Regions from separate parts of the Homo sapiens genome. Here region 2 is linked to region 1. The links are contacts of gene promoters, found by promoter capture Hi-C in blood cells and fetal thymus (Javierre and others, 2016). All regions are on one chromosome and are shown on one strand. Each heading gives the region's core, a stretch centred on a gene start or on the middle of the fragment in contact. The rest is flanking DNA. Distances are from core to core; before and after follow the strand shown.

Region 1 (3,709 bases), core at 1,100-3,599:
AATTTATCCTGTTTCTTCCACTGCAACTGAAAATGTCACTCTGTAACTTTTAATTCACTTCCCTAAATAATAATTAAAAAGTGCCTTATGATTGTAAAATTACCCTAAGAAGAAATTCTTTTAAAATACAGTAGCTTTTGGCATTTTACATAAACTTTAGCCTAAGATTAAAACAACCATTAAAATTATTGTACAAAAATTTTAAATAAAATAATTTAAATACTTTTCAAATTTATTTTAAATTCTAAAACTTTCCATTGATTTAGATCCAAAAAAACCCTACAGATATTTCACTAGAAAAAAATACAGTGACACATTAGGATAGAGACATTTCATTGTGTGAAAGGTTTTGAGGACGTTATCATTCTTTATCATTATATACTTCATGAAATTTTTTTCAGTTCAATTTTTTGTATAAAATCATTCTTAAAACCCACCTCATGCAACAGACCTTCCTACATCATGTGAAAAGGATGAGGCCTTTTTCTTCTCAGAATTTCTATTTAGCAATTACTTTTCACCACAGATTAACAATGACTTCAAGATAATAAACGTTTACAAATTATGAGACAGACGCATTGAAGACTGCAAGCCCCAAAAAGAAAGACATTGTATTGTGAATACACTGTATGATATATGGGCACAATTACAGAAACCATTTTATCTATTAAGGACCTAAAAGAAAAATCAAGTAACTCTTACTTTTCTAAAGACAATTTAAAGCAAATCAATTCCTGTCTTGGTCAACTCATGTTAAGAAAACATTTACTAGCAAAGTACTTTGTCAATACTCATCACTTCTCTAGAATATTTAATTAATACTGCACAGAAGCCTGAACTTTTAAAAGGTAAACAAATGTGATTTTAAAAAGACATAACTATGACAGTAACAGTATTTTGTTTTCTTAAACCAAATACTTTTTTACCATATCCCCAAAATATTCTTAAAATTCATTTTCAAGAACTATTCGTACTTGACTACTTAAAATCTACATTCTTCCAGTGACATGAAAGAAGGAAACAAAGGCTTAACAGGAAAATAACAAAAGTAACTAACATAGGAAGGTAAAACTGCTAAGGGAGAAACACAGACAAACTGATAGAAAATGAGTAGCTTGAACTAAAATACAAGAAAGGTATAACTAGAGTTTGCAATATGTTTAGACTGAGTCTGAGATGAGGGTTCAAGTGAATAAGTACAGGAAACGTGGCATTTTGTTATATGGCTCACTCCATTCTGGAAAATGTTAGGCACAAATGATAATATGCTCCCTAAGTAATAAGATCTTATAAATAAAGCAGTGGAAGTGGTCCTTAATTAGGGGGGTGGCACCTACCTGGGATCACTGGAAAATATGGAGGGCATTTCTGGTTGTCACTATGACTGATGAGGGGAGATGTACAACTGCCATTTAGTGTCCATGGAACAGGTTTGCTAACATCCTCTTAGTATGCTAGACAGCGTTTGCAAACAGAAACTGTAAAGGCACATATGCACTCCAGAAGGGTAAGAAAATAATGAGGCTGAGATCCTGAGTTGGACCACCGAGATGAAAGACTTCTGGTGAGGCTAAAAACATGTAGAAAAAGCGATGAAAGCCAAAAACCTTAAAAGGTGGAGAAAAGTGTAGAGGCGAGAAGTGAGTTACAGGGGGAGAAGTGAGTTAGAATGACAAGCTGTGAATCCCTTTCCCTGCAATGACAAAAATACGTAATCACTCTGCCTGGGAGGTTTTTTCCTGCGCCACCACCCGTCAACGTCCACTACTGGGGAAAAACGTAAGCCTCTTTGCTCAAAGAGTTTCCACCCAAAAAGTGGCTATGGTTTCTCTGTAACTACATGTGAAAAATAAACTCCTTGCCTGGGGCAACTAGATGTGGAGATGGTTCAGTCTCCCACCTCCGTTTTCCCTCGCTGGAGTCGAACTTGCTCCTCCTGTTTCCCGAAGGACACCGAGAGGTCCCACCCGTACGGGCTGCCGCGAGTGCCTCTCTGGCCGCTACATTCAACTAAATGGGTGGGACAGTCACCTGGCGAGGGGGGGCAGGGACCGTCACCGCTTTCTCATTCCTCCTTCCCTCCTCCCAGGCACAGCAGCCCGGCCCAGCTTCCTGTGGCAGAAAAACCCTCAGTCGCCAAAAGAAAGCCGTCTTGAGGGTTCCCCCGCGCTCCCACCCGCGCCCCAAAAGCTCAGGTCTCTGGAGTCGGAGACCCTCCTGCCCACCTGCTCTTTACTGTCCTTCCCTCTCCTCGCACCTCAGCACCATTCACCCCTCACCCTCTCCCGAAACTACGGGGTCCCAGGTCTTCAAAGGCCTTAGCTTTCCACCCCGCCGTTACCGTGGCTATGAAATCGCTTCCGGGTTCACACCCTTTGCAGCCTCGCGGTTGGCGGTGAAAGAGCTTCCGGGTCGGCGGCCGGGCTGCTGCCGTTCCTGCTCCTTTTCACTGGACCTGCAGTCTCTCAGGGGCTGGTGGCAGGCGACTAGGAGACTAGGGTGGTGGCGGTGGGGGTGCCAGCGGCTGAGCCGGAGCCGGAGCCGGAGGCGGGGGAGGGGAAGAGGGCGGCCGGGGCTGCGAGCGCGCAAGGCTGGAACATGAGCCGGGCTTGACCGCGAGGCGGAGGCAAGAGCCACCGCCCCCTCTTCCCCTCCCCCGAGTGAGGCGGCGCAGCGGCCGGAGAGGGATGGGGGGCGCCCACCCAGTCTGAGCCTCGCCGCGGGCGCCTTCGGCTCACGCAGCGCTTCCCGCGGGCCGCCAGTGCGCACCCTCGGCCACATCAGCCTCCGCCTGGCGGGTGCACCCGGGCCGGCGAGGAAGGGGCAACCGTCCGGGTGGGTGGGGCGGGCTGGGTACCTGAGGTCACCAGCTCGGCTGTAGAGGCAGGGGCGGCGGAGGCGGAACTGCGGAGTTGCTGGGTCCACCGACCCTTACCCTCAGCGAGAGAAGTAACCGTAAGTCTCAGCTTCGCGGTACAGATGTGTTTGAGGCTGCCTCTACCCATTTGTGGCTCCGAGTTCAGAGCTACCTACTTCACACCCTCCCGGATCTACTAGGAGTGTGTCTGTCGCCTGTTTTGGAGCATTGTTGTTCTGTCTGTCCCCATCCCTGAACAGGCAGCATTCTCTGCCCTACAGGGCTTTTCTCCCAGCGAATTTGCAAGCCTCCGGGTCTCCGTGACGCGTCCCATCCTCCCCATCTGGATGCATCTCCTTGTCCCTCTGTCCTCAAAGGATCTGTGTCCTTCCTCGCAGCCTCCCCCCCACCCCCATCCTTTGAGACGTGGAAAGCCACGGGTTCTGCCGACCTCGGGGGCTAGAGAGAGTCTTGAGAAGCGGATGGGTAAAAGTGCTCTGCAGGGCTGTGATGGGTGGGGATAGGTGCAGATGGCTCCAGTGAACCTTTATTTTTGCAGCTTCTGCCACCAAAACAAAAGAATGGAGCGCTCCCCTGTATTCTTATTCTTCTCCGTATGTATGAGCTGTTTTTCTGTACGTAGCTGTTTGAGTCGCAGGAAATTGAAACTAGAGCTGTAATAAAGCATCTCCTGAGGAGATTTTGAGAATTAGTCTCCCAAGCTCTATTCACACGGAATGGCATATCGAACAATCTTGTATTGGAATGACCATTTCAGAAGAGCTTTACTGGTAGATCTGACAGATAAATGTAAAGATAAGAGTCTGCTGTTTCAAATAGTGTATTTTAGAT
Region 2 (3,834 bases), core at 186-2,685, 1.9 Mb before region 1:
AGAGGAAGGGTTGAGCAAGTGAAAAGGATACAGGAAGGAACTAGGCATGGTAGGTGAGCCTATTGTTCTTGCTACTTGGGAGGCTGAGGTGGGAGGATCCCTTAAGGCCAGGAGTTCAAGACCAGTCTGGGCAACATAGCAAGACCCCATCTTTAAAACAGTCGGGGTGGTGTGGTGCCTGTAGTCCCAGCCATTTGGGAGGCTGAAGTGGGAGAATTGCTTGAGCCCAGGAGTTTGAGGCTGCAGCAATGATAGTGCTATGATAGTGCCACGGCACTCGAGCCCAGGCACCAGAACCAGACCCTGTTTCAAAAAAAAGAAAATAAAAGATACCAGAAGGGTATTTTAGTAGCTTTGGATATACAGTTGACCCTTCAAGAACATGGGGGTTAGAGATGCCCCCGCCACAGCTGAAAATCTTCATGTAACTTTCAACTCCCCCCACAAAACAACTACTAATAATCTGTTGGCTGGAAGCCTCACTGATAACATAAGCCGTCAGTTGACACATATAAAATATATATATAGTATATACTGTATTCTTAAATTAAGCTAGAGAAAAGAAACAGTTACTAAGAAAGTCAGAAAGAAGGGAAAATATATTTACTGTTCATTAAATGGAAGTGAATTGTAAAGGTCTTCATCCTTATAGTCTTCATGTTGAATAGACTGAGGAGGAAGAGGAGGAGTTGGTCTTGCTCTCTTGGGTGGCAGAGGCAGAAGGGGTGGGGGTGGAGGAGGTGGAAGGGGAGGCAAGAGAGGCAGACACACTATGTGTAACTTTATGGAAGTACATCATAATTTCTGTCATGCTTTTGCTTTTCTCTTTCCCCCAAAAAAATGTTTCTATAGGGTACCAATACCTCTTCCACCATTTGCTTTGGTTTCAGTGCCTCTTCACAGAAGGGTCCATGTCATAAAAGAAGTCAAAAGCAGTCCTGAACAATAGGAGCTCTTCTGCCAGATTATCTAATGTTCGTTTTTCTGGTAGTTTATTCTGTGTTTTCTTCCTTGTTATCTGGCACTGGATCTGAAGCACTCATCAAGCTGTCTTCTGTTAATTCCTCTGGTTTGGTGGCTGTTAGCTCTTGAGTTTCTTCAAGATCCATATCTTGAAGTCCTTTACCCACTTTCCCGCCGTTTTTGGCATATTCACAGCCTCTTTCATGATTTCCTTGATTGGCTCTTTTGTAAATCCTGTGAAATTATAACACAACACAACACCTGGACAAAGTTTTCTCCAGCACGAACTTACTGTTTGGGGCTTATGGCTTTCATGGCTTTTTCAATAATAATGGCATCTTCAATTATGTAAACTTCAGATTTTCCTGAAGTTTTCTCTATTAGTGTTCTTTTCCATGGTTGACAATCCTTTTCGTAGAAAATCATGTTTAATGAGCCTTAAAGGTCCTTGCGACCCCGTGATCTAGAGGCTGATTTACAGACATTGTGTTTGGGGGCAAGGACACCACTTCAGTGCCTTTGATGTTGAACTCATGGGGTTCTGGGTAGCGGGGAGGTGGGGCACTGTCCATTAGCAGAGGAACTTTACAAGTCAGTCTCGTATTGGGAAGGTACTTCCTGACTTCAGGGAGAAAGCATCCATGGAACCAATCCAGAGAAAAGGTTTTTGTTCTCTAGGCCTTCTTATCCAACAAAGACTGGCAGCTGATGTTTATCTTTCCCTTTCAAGATTGAGGGGTTAGCAGCTTTATAGATAAGGACAGTCCTGATTACAAACACAACTGCATTTGCACAATACAGTAGGGTTAGCCTATCCCTTCCTGGCTTAAATCCTGGTGCTCCCTTCTCTTCCTTACTAATGTCTTTTGTAGCATGTTTTCCAGAATAGGGTACTTTCATCAGCATTAACAACCTGATTTGGGAGATATTCTTTCGTCTCAGTGATTTTCTTAATGGCATCTGGGAACTCATCTGCTGCCTCTTAGTTGGCAGAACCTGCTTCACCTGTTATCTTGATATTTCTAAAGCCAAAGCCAAACCTATTTCTTCTTTTTTTTTTTTAAATTATACTTTAAGTTCTAGGGTACATGTACACAGCGTGCAGGTTTGTTACATAGGTATACATGTGCCATGTTGGTTTGCTGCACCCATTAACTTGTCATTTACATTGGGTATTTCTCCTAATGTTATCTCTCACCCAGCCCCCAACCCCATGACAGGTCCCAGTGTGTGATGTTCCCCCCGTGTCCCAAGTGTTCTCATTGTTCAGTTCCCACCTATGAGTGAGAACATGTGGTGTTTGGTTTTCTGTCCTTGTGATAGTTTGGTCAGAATGATGGTTTCCAGCTGCATCCATGTCACTCATCCTTTTTATGGCTGCATAGTATTCCATCGTGTATATGTGCCACATTTTCTTAATCCAGTCTATCATTGATGGACATTTGGGTTGGTTCCAAGTCTTTGCTGTTGTGAATAGTGCCACAATAAACATACGTGTGCATGTGTCTTTATAGTGGCATGATTTTTAATCCTTTGGGTATATATCCAGTAATGGGATGGCTGGGTCAAATGGTATTTCTAGTTCTAGATTCTTGAGGAATCTAGAACTGTCTTCCACAGTCAAACCTCCTTCTAAAATTATCAAATCATCCTTTGCTGGCAATTAATTCTTTAGCTTTAGATCCTTCACATTCCTTTTGCTTTTAAGTTGTCATATGGTAACCTTACTTTTTCTTTTATTGTATTAGTCTATGTTTTTAAAATAGGAATCCTGCATCTACATAAAAGTTGCCTTTTTAATACAAGATAAAAAGTTAATTCACAAAAAGTGCAAGGTTTTCACACCTTTTGGCATAGCTGCTGCAGTGGCTTCATGAATTTTTGTCTTTTTTTACACTGATTCTTATTCTGGATTCATTTATCTTGAGATAGCAGGCCATCGCAGCTACAGATTTTAATCTGTGGTAGATATCAAGCAATTCATCTTTTTATCGTAGTGTCATGACTTTACTTCTTGGGAGCACTGCCAGCATCACTAGTGGCACTTTGTATGGGTTCCATGGTGGTGTTCAAGGTTTACAGTGTAGCGCTGAACATGATGAAAAATGCAAGAGAACTGTGAGAGATTACTTTTTACTGACTTATAAAATGTACTGGCAAGATGAACTGCTCATGGGGAGACGATTAGCATCACATGGCCTTTTAAGTGGCAACTTGGGACACTTGAGATCCCGGGATAGTTACAGGAGGTAACTACGAAATTATTACAGTATTCCACGATGTACTACAGTTAATTTTATGCAGTTATGATTTAATACTGCATTTTTACATTTGCTTACATTTCTCTTGACTGCAAATGCTGCCATGTAAGATCTGTAAGTGTGTGTGTAAGTTTTGATAAATTTTAAGTTTTTATAATAGATGTGTGGCCAGGTGCAGTAGCTCATGCCTGTAATTCCAGCACTTTGGGAGGCCAAGGCAAGAGGATTGTTTGTGGCCAGGAGTTTGAGACCAGCCTGGGCAACATAGCAAAACCCCATCTCTAGTTTTTAAAAATTAAGATAGATATGTGTATATTTTATGGAAGTAAATGACAAAATAGATTAGCATCTATATATTTTTTGCACTCATAACACACAGCTTTTCTTAATTTTTTCAATATTTCCAATCTATTTGCTTTGTAAGTTTTTTCAAATTGTTGCAAAGCTCAAAAAATTTTTCTAATATATTTATTGAAAAATATCTGTATATAAGTGGACACACGCAGCTCAAACCAGTGTTGTTCAAGGGTCAACTGTAGTACTAAGAATTTTTTACTTTATTTCATAAGCATTTTTTTTTTTGAGACGGAGTCTCGCTCTGTCGCCCAGG

The links. Contacts are between HindIII fragments. The CHiCAGO score rates a contact against its expected background, and 5 or more counts as called.
Region 2: a contact is called between a fragment that was not itself captured here and the fragment with the promoter of KRIT1 in region 1, in 1 of 17 cell types (fetal thymus). The highest score is 6.6, in fetal thymus.

Annotation. Positions count from the first base shown.
Region 1 is chr7:92,243,565-92,247,273 of GRCh38, forward strand. KRIT1 (KRIT1 ankyrin repeat containing) reads right to left here and starts at 2,350. Exons shown (of 19, transcript NM_194454.3): 1 at 2,226-2,350; 2 at 1,338-1,607; 3 at 438-585. It overlaps ANKIB1 (ankyrin repeat and IBR domain containing 1), which reads left to right and starts at 2,410. Exons shown (of 20, transcript NM_019004.2): 1 at 2,410-2,955. RefSeq lists an enhancer at 2,231-2,525 and a silencer at 2,456-2,845. The HindIII fragment of the contact is 4,029 bases long and covers 1-3,709 here.
Region 2 is chr7:90,347,908-90,351,741 of GRCh38, forward strand. All of the region lies in intron 1 of GTPBP10 (GTP binding protein 10), which reads left to right. The region is part of intron 1 of LOC107986715 (a long non-coding RNA gene); the gene reads right to left. Among named protein-coding and RNA genes, the nearest start is that of GTPBP10, 3.1 kb to the left of the region's middle. The HindIII fragment of the contact is 6,192 bases long and covers 1-3,834 here.